Regions from separate parts of the Homo sapiens genome. Here region 2 is linked to region 1. Evidence: promoter capture Hi-C in 16 types of primary human blood cells and fetal thymus (Javierre and others, 2016). All regions are on one chromosome and are shown on one strand. The core of a region is centred on a gene start or on the middle of the fragment in contact, and the rest is flanking DNA. Distances in the headings are between cores, read along the strand shown.

The links. The method cuts DNA at HindIII sites, captures the fragments that hold promoters and counts their contacts. A CHiCAGO score of 5 or more calls a contact.
Region 2: a contact is called between a fragment that was not itself captured here and the fragment with the promoter of ABCB7 in region 1, in 5 of 17 cell types (total B cells, total CD4 T cells, naive CD8 T cells and 2 more). The highest score is 8.6, in total B cells.

Annotation. Positions count from the first base shown.
Region 1 is chrX:75,152,117-75,158,865 of GRCh38, forward strand. It overlaps ABCB7 (ATP binding cassette subfamily B member 7), which reads right to left and starts at 4,167. Exons shown (of 16, transcript NM_001271696.3): 1 at 3,989-4,167. The coding sequence starts at 4,156. It also overlaps a transcript of UPRT not described here. RefSeq lists an enhancer at 3,848-4,277. The HindIII fragment of the contact is 6,846 bases long and covers 1-6,703 here.
Region 2 is chrX:76,133,693-76,140,441 of GRCh38, forward strand. No RefSeq gene overlaps it. Among named protein-coding and RNA genes, the nearest start is that of PBDC1, 36 kb to the right of the region's middle. The HindIII fragment of the contact is 808 bases long and covers 3,060-3,867 here.

The DNA of each region.
Region 1 (6,749 bases), core at 2,917-5,416:
TTTTCTAATGACAGCAAATTATTGTTTAATAATTTTAAAAGTCTTTATTGGTCTCCTAATAAAAGGACTATGCTTTTAACATTTGTGTCCCCCTAAAATTCCTATATTGAAACTTAATCACCAATGTGATGGTATTAAAAGGTGGAGTCATTGGGAGGTGATTAGGACTTGGAGAGTAGAGCTCTCATAAACAGGATTAGTTCCCTTATAAGAGGGGCCAAAGAGCTGCCTTGTCTCTTCTACCACATGAGGACACAGCTAAAAGGCACCGCCTATGAACCTCAAGACCTCACCAGACACTAAATCTGTCAGCACCTTGAACTGTGAGAAATAAATTGCTCTTGCTTATAAGTCATGTAGTTTATGGTATTTTGTTATACCAGCCCAAACAGACTAAGATAGACTATTAGTCTAAGAAATTATTTCTCATATGCACATTAAATCCCTCTTCCTGCAAATGAAGTCCACATCTTTGTATCATAACCTAATGTTCCAGTTAAGTTTAGGCATCACTGAACTACAAATAACCCCTTCAGGTCCTTTTTTTTTTTTCTTTTTTTTGAGAGGAAGTCTCGCTCTGTCGCCCAGGCTGGAGTACAGTGGCGCGATCTCGGCTCACTGCAACCTCCGCCTCCAGGGTTCAAGCAATTCTCCTGTCTCAGTCTCCTGAGTAGCTGTAGTCACAGGTGCACGTGACCATGCCCAGCTGCTTTTTGTATTTTTAGTATGGACGGGGTTTCACCATATTGGTCAGGCTGGTCTCGAGCTCTTGACCTCAGGTGATCCACCTGCCTTGGCCTCCTAAAGTGTTAGGATTACAGGCATGAGCCACTGGGCCAGGCCGCTTCAGGTACTTTAAATGTCACTGAATCACCTCTCACCCTTTTCAGTTCCATGATCTATAATCCACTTAAAGACACCCTTATTTCTCTTGTAAGTTCTGTTTTTGTTGTTGTTGTTTGTTTGTTTGCTTGTTTTTGAGACGGAGTCTTGCTCTGTCGCCCAGGCTGGAGTGCACTGGCGCGATCTTAGCTCACTGCAAGCTCCGCCTCCCGGGTTCACGCCATTCTCCTGCCTCAGCCTCCCGAATAGCTGGGACTACAGGAGCCCGCCACCATGCCCGGCTAATTTTTTTTGTATTTTTAGTACAGACGAGGTTTCACCATGTTAGCCAGGATGAATAAGTTCTGTTTTCTATTCTTTTAGTATATTTTGGGACGACTGTTGAATAATCACTGTAGTTTCTTCATAGGCATCTTATATTGTTAAATTTAAATATGAACTAGAACCTCTAAAATATAGAATAGGAGGATTATTTCCCTAGTGTTGTTATTATATTCCCACTTCAGTTAATATGAAAGCCAGGAGTAAAGTATTTTAATTTTTATCTACTCTGCTAACTCTTAGCAGCCAATGGTGGAAGAGTAGGAAGGTGGAACTTGCTACTGGGAGAAATTAAAGCTCCCATTCTTGGTCCATGAGGTCAGACCAACAAATGAAAACAAAACAGTACCTATCCAAAAGAACTACCATATTCCACAACCCAGGTCTAGGGCATATACTGGGTGAGAAATACTTACAATGAATTCCAGTAATCACATACATGTGGGACTGTGTGTGTGTGTGTGTGCGTGTGTGTGTGTGTATATATATATATAAAATATATATGTGTGTGTGTATATACACATAAAAGTTCATGAAACAATACTTCACTTAAGATGTAAAAAGCACTGCTATTTTCTTTATATTCTACTGAATTTCATCTAAAAAAGTGCTAATCCAACCCACTAACATTATTTCATAACACTGCTCTAAGGTTCCTTTCAGCTCTAAAATATTATGCTATATACTAATGATCGTCCTAAAAGTATGAATTCAGTAATTATTTTGTAATCTTAATCACAAGTCACAAATTTGCAGGTACCTCAGGTTACCTCAGCTTCTACTTTGAAAACTTTGTAATCATTCCTTTCTCACCCTGTTTTAAAAAAAGGATGGCAAGAGTTCCATGCCTTTAAGAAACAGAAAACAAAGGTAACATCTTTCCCTTGTTTTGCACACTGAGGAAATGGTAACTAAAGGAAATGGTAGGATGTAAAGGACAGAGTGGAAGAAGGAAGTTGTGGAGATAGCGTTCATGGAAAGAGAGAAAGCTAAATTTGTATTGCCATTGCCTCCTCTGAGATTCCTAATAACTTCTCCTTTTCCCTCTTCCCCCTCATTCTTCCAGCTTAAGAAATTTTATCTTAAGATATCTAATTTTATCTAAGATAACATTTACAAATTTTATCTTAACTTCATCTGCCTTATTGGAGAACTACAGAACAAAAACCATTCCCAAGAGATCATGTGTTAGAAACTTTCAACCATAAAATACTTTAAAAACCTTAATGAAATCATCTAGATTCGCTTCGTTAGCCTAATCTGCTATTTCCTATCTTGAATGACTCACTACAGTCTAAACTACGTGCAGTTCTAGAAAAGGTCCATGTTCTCTCTGACTTGTGGGCCTTTGCACATGCGATTCCTTCTTTAACTGGCTAACTTCTAATTTTTCAGCTCTTGCCTTAGATATCAGTTACTTAAGGCAATCTTCACTACCTTACAATTAGACTTAATACCCCTCACATATACTGTCCCATACCTTGTACCTTTCCCATTATTACACAGCTCCACTATATTTTAATTGCCGATTAATTTACATATTTCCCACTAGATTTTAAGCTCTTTAAAGACAGGACTTATATTTTGTTTGCTCCTGTAGAGGTGTTCAATAATTACTGAATGAATTATAAATGTCATTCCATCAGCCTTCCACATGCTTAGTGTCATTCCCTATTCTCCCTGTTCAGAACATTCTCCCCAGTTCTATCACCAGCATGAAATACTCTTTATAACCTGGTCCTTAATTATCACTATTTCCTCTGGATGCCTATAGCCTTTATTGTACATACTATTCATTTGCTAATTAACCCACCACTGTGTTTTTCAGTTATTTTTGTAATGCATAGATCCAATCTCCTTAACTAAACTGTACAATCCTTGAAGGCATAACTGTATGTCTCTCTTAGTACCCTATCATCTAGCACAGGGCTATGTACAAGGTAGACGTTAAATATTTGTAGATGAAGAATCAAAATTTAAGAGGTTGTTTCTCATACAAAACTGACAATATTTTAAAGTGATAGTGATAAATACGTGGTGGCAATTAAACCTCTTGTCAATACACAGAAAATAAAAAGATATACTTTAGTACAGTTAAGTACAAATAATTTTTTAAAAAACCGTTCCTGAGTGAGAGGTAATAATGGACTCAAATTTTAGGAGGCACTACAACCATAGCTACATTCATAAGTTAAGGATAAGTAGCCTATGGCTTCCAAAATGACCTGTGCACAGAGAACATCACTGTATTTTTCAGATCTAGGACAGTCATATTTATACAAGAATTTAGGGCGGTCTATGTTTTGGAAAGATAGTTACGGTTTTGGCCTATCAAGAAGCACGCCTGTCAGCAAGGGAGTTAACTGGCGCCACCTGTTTATAGATAGCTTGCTGTCATTACAGTGCTCTCCGAATTGCTAATTCCAACTGAGTAAAATCTGAACCACAGATAAACTGTCCCAAATTCCATTACTAATTGGGGAAAATAATCCAGTCTTCCTCGTCTTTAGAAAGGCAAGCAGGCTGGGAATGGTGTCTACCCCAACTCTTAATATGAGAGAAAAACTATGACTCCGAGAGCCTCCAGCGCTCCAGGTGTCCTCTGCCCAGAACCTCCTGCCCCGTTTCCCTTTGCTGAACTCAAAGGTTTTCTTCTTCGCCCTTTCCTCAAATTACTGACGTTAATTTCCTTCACTTACTGCTGCTCCCAGTTAGCCATGACTTTCTTCTTGGTGCTCTCTCTGCCCCGAGGTCAGGAGGGCAACCTTTTCCCTACAGGTCCCCTTGCCCTTCACCCTATTCTTCCATGTCAGTGGCATCTCACCTGGTAGGCTCGAGCGGTTCCCAAGGCGCCGAGTTGATGTGGCCTCCACTGCGGACCTGAGCCGCTAACAGAGACTAAAGGCCGGATCAGAATCGCGGAGTGCCGGCGCTTTTCGAAAGCAGCCGCCGCGGCCGCCCAGCGCCAAGAATGCATCGCGAGCAGCGCCATCTTGAGCGAGGAAAGAGGAACCGAGAGAAGAGGATTATGGGACACTGGCGGACTGAATTCGGCTACCTTAATTGTCTCTCCTCTTCTTGTTTTCCCAGGGCCCCAGACCGGAAATGGATTCTGTTTGAAGATTCGGATGCATTCGCACAGCCTCTTTTATTTGTTTTTCCTTAGGGCCGAGCTTTGATTGTTTTCCTTACACAACCGGGAATATTGGAGTAACACTGTATTTTTCTCTTTTCCTGGAGTTGCCAGATGAAATACAGGATGCCTACCTAGTTAAGTTTCAATTTTACATAAACAACGAATCATCTCTTCGTGCGTGTGTCCCAAATATTGTATCTGCTAAATCTGTCAACCCCATCTTGTCTCTCATAATACTCTCTTACCTCCTCCAACTCAATGTCACGCTCCCCTCTCTCCATTTTCCCTATGCATATTCTTATCTTCACTCCCTTCTGAATTAAGGAAAGATTAAACTACAGACGTTAATTTCCCCTGGGAGGAGGCTTCAGCTGTAAGATTTACTGCTTTTCTGTCCTGTAAGGACTTTAACTTTGCTGATTGTTCTCTGTTGCGCAAACCTTGGGGCAGTTTTCCTTTGGTCTGTTGCTCGTGGGACAGTCTCACACACACACACACACACACACACACAGAGAGACTACAGACATCTTTACTAATTTTGTCACTCTTTCTAGCTCTTCGCTTTGGTTTTTGCAGCGTCCCTAATTCTTGAAAAATCGCTTAGGTTGGCTGAAGGGTGGTAAAGTGAAATGTATGGAGAGAAGACCATGTTTAAAGACAGGCTTATATTCTTTTGTCACCACTATTATCAAACAAAATGTCAAAATATGTTTACAGTTATCTAGGAAACTGCATTTCCAGTTGTAAATGTTACCTGAAACCCCGGAGACAATAATGCAGTTGCAATTTTATATTCACTGCTGCATTCTCCAACTTTTCACACAAAAGAGACAAATAATTATGGACTTCTTATGAAGAGGTACTTTGGACTAGTAAGTCTGATAAAGAAAAACAGAAATCTGTAGCCCATGCAGTTAGCTTTTTTGTTCTGGGATTCATTCAAGGGGATGCTTGAGCTAGTTATTTAAAGAAAAATAGAATTCAAGTTGAAGAGGTTGACTGGAATTACACGTAAAGAAGATGACATGTTAAAAGCAAGAAGGCATAAGAAAATATTTTCAGGTTCAGGAGTCTATGGAGTTTGGGAAAGTAGTAGGAGGTTAACCTGAGTGAACAGAGACCTGATGGTAAAGGGCCTTCTATTTCATTCTAAGAAGTTAATACTTTATCCTATAACCAGTGAAGAGTTTTAATCAGGAGAGTAACATGATCAGATTTATATGTCCATTAAGCTACTCTGGCTTAAGTGAGAAGGTTGGATTGGACGGAGTTCATATTGAAGTCATGAAGTTAATGCAATAGTTCAGTCATAAAATAAAGGCCTCAACCTAGCAGTAGCAGTGGCAGTAGATCGATTGCAGGGCAATTAGGAGATGGAATTGGCAAGACTTAGTGACTAATTGGATGTTTCTAGCTTATTATTGTATTGTTGACAGTAGATCAGTAATGGCTTCATATTAATGACTATATTGTCATCAACAAATATTTATTCAGCATCTATTCTGTGTTAGACAGCTACAGTATACATTAGAGAAACTCTAGACTCTACTAATGATTTCTCTTAGGGCTGAATATTGCCACTGAATCTTACCACCCAGTTGTAAAGTCTTTGAATGGAGCCAAATTATTTTTTTCCAAAAGTAGTGCTCATTGTAAGCCAACTGTTTTGATCAAAAAGTGTGAATAACATTGAAATACCCAAGTTGTTACTCTATGATGAGCTAAAGTGAGGCAAATATTTATTTGCCAAATAAGCCGAAGAAAATTTCCAGGGCACCCAGAAATAGAACGTGAGGCATAATAAGAGTTGCACACTGCTGGGGAAGAGCAGCAACAAAAAGGCCAACTCAGCCTGTAATAACTTGACACATAACTGTCTGACATAAATTAAAGAGACAGAGGTATACACAATAAAAGCTGCTATAAATAGCTGCTACAACCACAGATCACATGATAGCACTTTATGTATGCAATAATTAAATGTGTATAGTATTTTGTAACTTACAATCCGCTTTGTCATACCTTATTTCATTTAGTCCTCACATCGACCATGGAAGATAGGTATTATTTATTAATATGCCCATATTTATGAGGAAACTGAGGCTAAGAAAAGTTGTGACTAGGTCAGAGGCCACAGAGCTAATGGGATGGAGACCAAACCTAGGTTTTATGACTCCAAACATAGTGCTCTTTTCACTTAATAACACCTGAAATGTGGAAGAAACACTTGAGCAATTTAAGAAGGCCACAGTGGTCTTCTGTTTCTAAAAAATACCAGAACTTATTCTCACCTCAGGACCTTTCCACTTGCTTTCCCCTCTACCAGGAATATCTTTCCTGTAGATTTTTAAATGACTTTTTCTTATCTTTCAGGTCTCAAAACAAATGTCACCTGCTTAGAGAAGCTTTCCAAGAGAACCTTATCTGAAGAGGCCACCCCCTGTCCCCA
Region 2 (6,749 bases), core at 2,214-4,713, 980 kb after region 1:
TTCATTTTTAAGTGGGAGCTGAATGATGAGAACACGTGGACACATGGGTTGGGGGGAAATACACATCTGGTCTGTCAGAGGGGGTGTGAAGGGAGGGAGAGCATCAGGAAGAATAGCTAATGGATGCTGGGCTTAATACCTAGGTGATGGGATGATCTTTGCAGCAAACCACTGTGGCACACGTTTACCTATGTAACAAACCTGCACATAAGGCACATGTACCCCTAAACTTAAAATAAAAGTTGAAGGAAAAAAGAAAAGAGAAACAAAAAGACCCCAAAAGCAAATGCAACAAAAAGAAAAATAAATAAATGGGACCTAAATTAAACTAAAAACTTTTGCACTACAAAAGAAATAATCATCAGAGTAAACAGACAACCCACTGAATAGCAGAAAATATTTGCAAACTATGCATCCAACAAAGGACTGATATCTAAAATCCACAAGGAACCCACACAAATCAGCAAGAAAAAAAAACCCAAATAATCCCATCAAAAAGTGGGCAAATGACACAAATAGACACTTCTATAAAGAAGATATACAAATCACCAATAAACATATAAAAATGTTCAACATCAGTAATCATCAGGGAAATGCAAATTAAAATCACAATTAGATACCACTTTACCCTAGGTACACTGAATATTACTAAAAAGTCAACAAACAATAGCTGTTGGCATGGATATGGTGAAAAGTGAACACTTTTACACTGTTGGTGGGGACGGAAATAGAGGTTGTTAGTACAACGTCTATGGAAAATAGTACGGAGATTTCTCAAAGAACTAAAAGTAGATCTAACATTCGATCCAGCAATCCCACTACTGGGTATCTATCCAAAAGAAAAGAAGTCATTATATCAAAAAGACACTTGCACATGTATGTTTATCACAGCACAAATCACAGTTGAAAACATATGGAACCAACCTAAGTGCCCATTAACTGATGAGTGAATAAAGAAAATGTGGTATGTATACACACACACAAACACACAGACGATGGAATACTACTCAACCATAAAAAAAATGTATTTTCAGCAACATGGATGGAGCTGGAGGCCATTATTCTGAATGAAGTAACTCAGGAATGGAAAGCCAAATACCTTATGTTCTCAATTATAAGTGGATACTAAGCTATGGGTATGCAAAGGCAGACAGAGTAGTATAATGGACACTGGAGACTCAGAAGCAGAGAGGGTGGGAAGGTGTGGGGAATAAAAAGCTACATATTGGGTACAATGTACACTACTCAGATGTTAGGTGCACTAAAATCAGACTTCACCACTATACAATTCATCCTTGTAACCAAAAACCACTTGTGCCCCAAAAGCTATTGAAATAATATATATTTATACATAATAAAATTCAAAAATTATCCCAGAACAGTATTTCTAAAGGTTGCCAAATAATTCACCTGCCAAAGATCCATATCTTATCATTTATTTACTCACTGTCTTATCACACATTTAGCTCTTCGTATTTCATTACCATTAATAAAGTACAATGACTATCATCTTTGTACATAATGATTTGGGAATGTACGTTAGTTGGTAAGATTATACAATAAGGATATCAATTTTGTATCATGTATATTGTAAAGTTTTCCAACTTTATCATTGTCTGTTTATTTATTTATTTATTTATTTATTTATATTTTTGAGACGGAGTCTTGCTATGTCACCCAGACTGGAGAGAAGTGGCGCGATCTCGGCTCACTGCAAGCTCTGCCTCCTGGGTTCACGCCATTCTGCTGCCTCAGCCTCCCCAGCAGCTGGGACTACAGGCGCACACCGTCAAGCCCGGCTATTTTTTTTGTATTTTTAGTAGAGACGGGGTTTCACCGTGTTAGCCAGGATGGTCTCGTTCTCCTGACCTCATGATCCGCTCGCCTCGGCCTCCCAAAGTGCTGGGATTACAGGCGTGAGCCACCGCCCCGGGCTGATTGTCTTTTTAAAATAAAACTTACCGAAAAGGTAATATATTTCATGTATCAAAAACCAAATAGAAGAAGCATAAAGTATCTATTCCAGCTTAATCTCCCATCTCCCCAGTTCCCACCTTCTCCACCCACACAGTTAACTATTTTTATTCATTTCTTCTGTAAACTTTGTGTGTGTTTACATAAGGAGATAGCCCCCACCCACTTTTTCATATAATTTGTAGCATACAATATACACTTTTTGTTTCTTTTCTTTTCTTTCTTTCTTTTTTTTTTTTTTTTTTTTAAGATGGAGTTTCCCTCTTGTTGCCCAGGCTGCAGTGCAGCGGAGCGATCTCGGCTCACCGCAATCTCTGCCTCCCGGGTTCAAGTGATTCGCCTCCCTCAGCCTCCCGATTAGCTGGGATTACAGGCATGCGCCACTATGCCTGGCTAATTTTGTATTTCTTTTTTTAGTAGAGACGGGGTTTCACCATGTTGGTTAGGCTGGTCTTGAACTCCCGACCTCAGGTGATCCACCCGCCTCGGCCTCCCAAAATACTGGGATTACAGGAGTGAGCCACAGCACTAGGCACAATATACACTTTTTAAGTCACTTAAAATATATCTCACTGGTCTTTCCATGTCAGTACATTGAACACTTCCTTGTTATTTTTTGTAGCTTCATTGTATGGTTGTACCATAATTTATTTAATGTGTTGCTCTGATGATAGACATTAAGGTTTTGCTCTTACAAACAATGCTTCAGTAAACAACCTGGCACATATTTTTTTAAAATATATACAAATACCGGCATGTCTGTGGGATAAATTTCCAGAGGTTAATTTGTTTTGTTAGAGCCTTATGCATTCATAAGTTGATAGACGCCCTAAATTGCCTTCAACATGTGTGCCAAATTATACTGTCACCAACAATGTGTCAAAATTTCCCATAGCCTTGCTAACAGTATTTTATCAATTTTTTGGGTGAATTTTTTTGTAATTACAATTGGTGAAAAAATAGTCACATATCTTTGATTTTTAGTAATGGGTTTCCAGCTTAAAATGGTCTTTAATAAGCAGTACTTGATGTTGCCTTTCTTGGCTTCTGACTAATATACAAAAGAAGATCCAGAAGAGGAGGAAAGCTTGCAGTAACTCTGAAAAGTAAGACTGAGAATGAACCCATTGCCAGAATATATGAAACATTCCCATAAATTCTAAATTGAGTGATGTAGTACCCAATTATTGAATACTCACTATATGTGGAGGAACGTATATCTGTCTGTGTACACACACACACACACACACACACACTTCATCATTTCTCCCTTGGAACTCTTCATAATGATCCTGTGAGGATGTGAAATTATGAGCCATATTTGACAAGTGAAGAAACTTTGTCTTGGAAAACTGAAGTGACTGACTTGCCTAAGGCCATGTAATAAGAGGCACATCTGAGGTTCAAACACAGGCATGCCAGACTCCAAACTATAATAGAACTCTTTTCAGTATTTCACATGCTTTATCCCTCTCACACTTTGATTCCTGGCTCAGCAACAGAAAAGTTATACCAGTCAGAAAATTTGCCATCTCCCTCAAAACTTTATTAGCACTGATATCTGAGGTAGTTCAAAACACCTTTCCTTTTTCTATTCCTTCCCACAGATAGTATCTTCCTTTCTATGTCAATAAAGAAACTAGAAGTTGGAAACTCAAAGTGTATGTGCAAGATAGGAGGCTAGATGTAGAAGTGACAATAGGGTTGCAGCTGGCAGCCCATTGCATTCTGGCAAGTGGAGAAGATAACCCAATATAATAATAATGGTTAATATAGATTGAGCTTTTACAGTGGTCAGGGACTTCGCTAAGTGTTTTCCAGGCATTAGTTTATTACAGCAGATTCTTGGGGTAGGTAATATTATTATTCCCTCATTCTAGATGAGGAAATGGAAGCTTGAATAAGTGAAATTACTTGCTGGGATGTTTGTAAAAAGATCTTTGCTCTGGAAGTCAGGAGGCTTCTGTGATACTGCTGCTAGTTTACTTTATAATTTTGTATAAGTGGCTGTCCCTTTCCTTGCTTCAGTGTCTGAACCTGGAATTTTTTATGCGGTTTTTGAGACTCTAAGTTCATTGGGGTGGAATTTGGAAGGGTGGTCAAGCATGAATAGGACTAGAAGGGAACACAAATATTTTTTGCTCAAGACATTAGTCTCAGCTGTACCTCCATATGTCTTTTCCCTGCTTTACCCCTTCCTACTTGTTCTCTTGCTCATGGCACTCATTCTCTTCCCTAGTTGTAGATTTAAGTTAAGTCCAGTAGGAACTTGACACACTCAGAAAATGGATGAAAACCCAAGGGGATGCTACTTTTGGGACCATTGTCTGAGCTTTTTTGGGTTACTGCCACCTGTCACAGTTTAAGAGATGTGGAGAGCCACTCATGGCTGTCAGAGGCTGTGTCAAGGAAACAATATTCTGGTAATGATTTTTATTTACCATGAGGGTTTGGTTTCCTCTTCTGGTGTCTACTTGGACTTCCCTAAGAATTAGTTACCTTGGTTCTTGGGCTTGGCATCAGCCCACAGAGCATGGAGCCAATCAAGTACCATAAGTCCTGCAGAGATTTAAATTTCCTGGTGGCAGCATTTCTGGCACAGGCTTATGTTTTCCTATGGTTACTTAAGCCCTTTATTAATGCACTCTGAGTTTCTCTCATGGTTTGGCTCCTCAAGAAGTCAGGCAGTAGCGTTCAAGGTATGGGGAAGGTATCAGGTCAAGACAGAAATATTTGGCAGCTTTAGGGATTTTCTGTTTCCACTCTTAAGGTGTGCCCTGAATAAGAGCTGTAGAAGAGTCATCTGGGGCTGACTTCTTTGAGGCCCCAAAGAGTCTGGCCTGGGCTTCAAGGAATCTGAGTCCTAGGGTATGCTCAGCCACGAACTCCCTGGGTGACCTTAGGCAGACAAATTCATTTCCCTGAATCTCTGTTTCCTCAAACATCTTCCATCTCAAACATTCTATAATTCATGAAAGCTGAATAGTACTGGAAATTCTTCTGCTCAGTATGATAATGATTTGAGCAGAGAAATGAACAGGCTGGGTAAAGTGTGACCTTCCCAGGGTACATAAAATGTTTTTCCAATTAAATGAACATTTCCTAAATCAGTTCCCAATTAGTGGAGCCAGTGTGTGTTAGCCTTGTGATGGGGCTGCATAAATAGCAATTCAGAATCCAGGAAGAAAGTGGCCAATAGGCCCACTCTGCTTCTTACCTGTCATAGCAAAAAAGGAGTATGGTGCTCAGAGCCGATCATCACATTTTAGAGAGGACACCATGAGGCTGGAGCTATTTCAGGGCCGTAGCTAAGGTGATGAGGGAACTCTGAACTGTGTCATATGAGGAAGAGCAGAATGGCCTGGGGATAAGTAACCAAGAGAAGACCTCCAGCAACATCTTGGCCCCTGGTTTTGGCTCCTATGGGGAAGAGGGTGTATTAGTTTGTTTTCTGTTGCCTATCAAAGAATGCCTGAAACTGGATAATTTATAAAGAGAAGGAATTTATCTCCTACAATTATAGAGGCTGAGAAGTCCAAGTTTGGGGGCTGTATCTGGTGAGGGCCTTCTTGCTGGTGGGGACTCTCTGCAGAGTCCTGAGGTAGCATTAATAAAGGGCATAAGGAACTCCAGAAAAACATCACATGGTGAGAGGGCTGAGTGTGCTTGCTCAGGTCTCTCATCCTCTTCTTATAAAGCTACCAGGTCCACTGCCATGACGATCCATTAATCCATTAATCCATGAATGGATTGATCCATACATAAGGGCAAAGCCCTCATAACCCAAACACTTCTTAAAGGCCCTATCTTTCCATACTGCCACATTGAAGATTAAGGTATAACACATACAATTTTGGGGACACATTCAAACCATAACAGAGGTGTGTTGTGGGGAAAATGGAGTGACTTCAAACCTGACCCAATAGCTATACTGCAGGTTCAGTAAATAGATGCTACCAAGGGACAGATTTCACACCAAAGTTCAGGAAAAATTTCAGAGTAAAATCAGTTTTATGTGGAATTAGATGGTTATAGATCTATAAACCAGAAGAAGATAATCTGAATTTCAGCTGGAGGAAATTTTGGACAAAAGCCTGGATCTGTTTAAGGGCACGGTCCTTGCACTGTTTGACCTCTAGGGAGAAATACAACTGAATTTGTACAAATGATGGGTGCACCAGGTAGCAGATGAGAGTGTTTTGACAAAGTGAGCTACTTAACCATGTATGGGAGTGCTAATGCATCTCTCTCTTAAGTATGTGTGAAAGCCCTAATGAAACTTCAATAAATACTCCTGAGACTTCATTGGGAGAATAGAGATGGAGGTCTTGAAATATTGCATGGGAGTGAAATAAGAGAGATATTACATTTTCAGGGACCTCTCCAAAATTCCAATAATATAAACTTTTATGTTTAACTTATGGGTTTAATTAATCTCCACATCTCAAATATCATTAATTCTGGAATAGAGCAAGGCATGTCACTTTACAGTTAATACAAAAGTGCCTGTCAAATCACATCAAATAGAAAATCCCAAATTATTGTGTCTCAGTGATATTCAGCATTGTTATGACATACAATAATCCCTCAGGCTACTTAGGTAGTCCTTTCACCAGAAATACATATCACAAGCATGTCCTTGTGGATCTTATTTAGTGTGGCTGCCATTAGTTTTGTGTCCAACACATAAAACCTATGTGTGACCTTTCCAGCCTAGATGAATAGAACACTTACTGACATATTGCTGATCTGCTTGACTTCTATGAAAGGCCTTC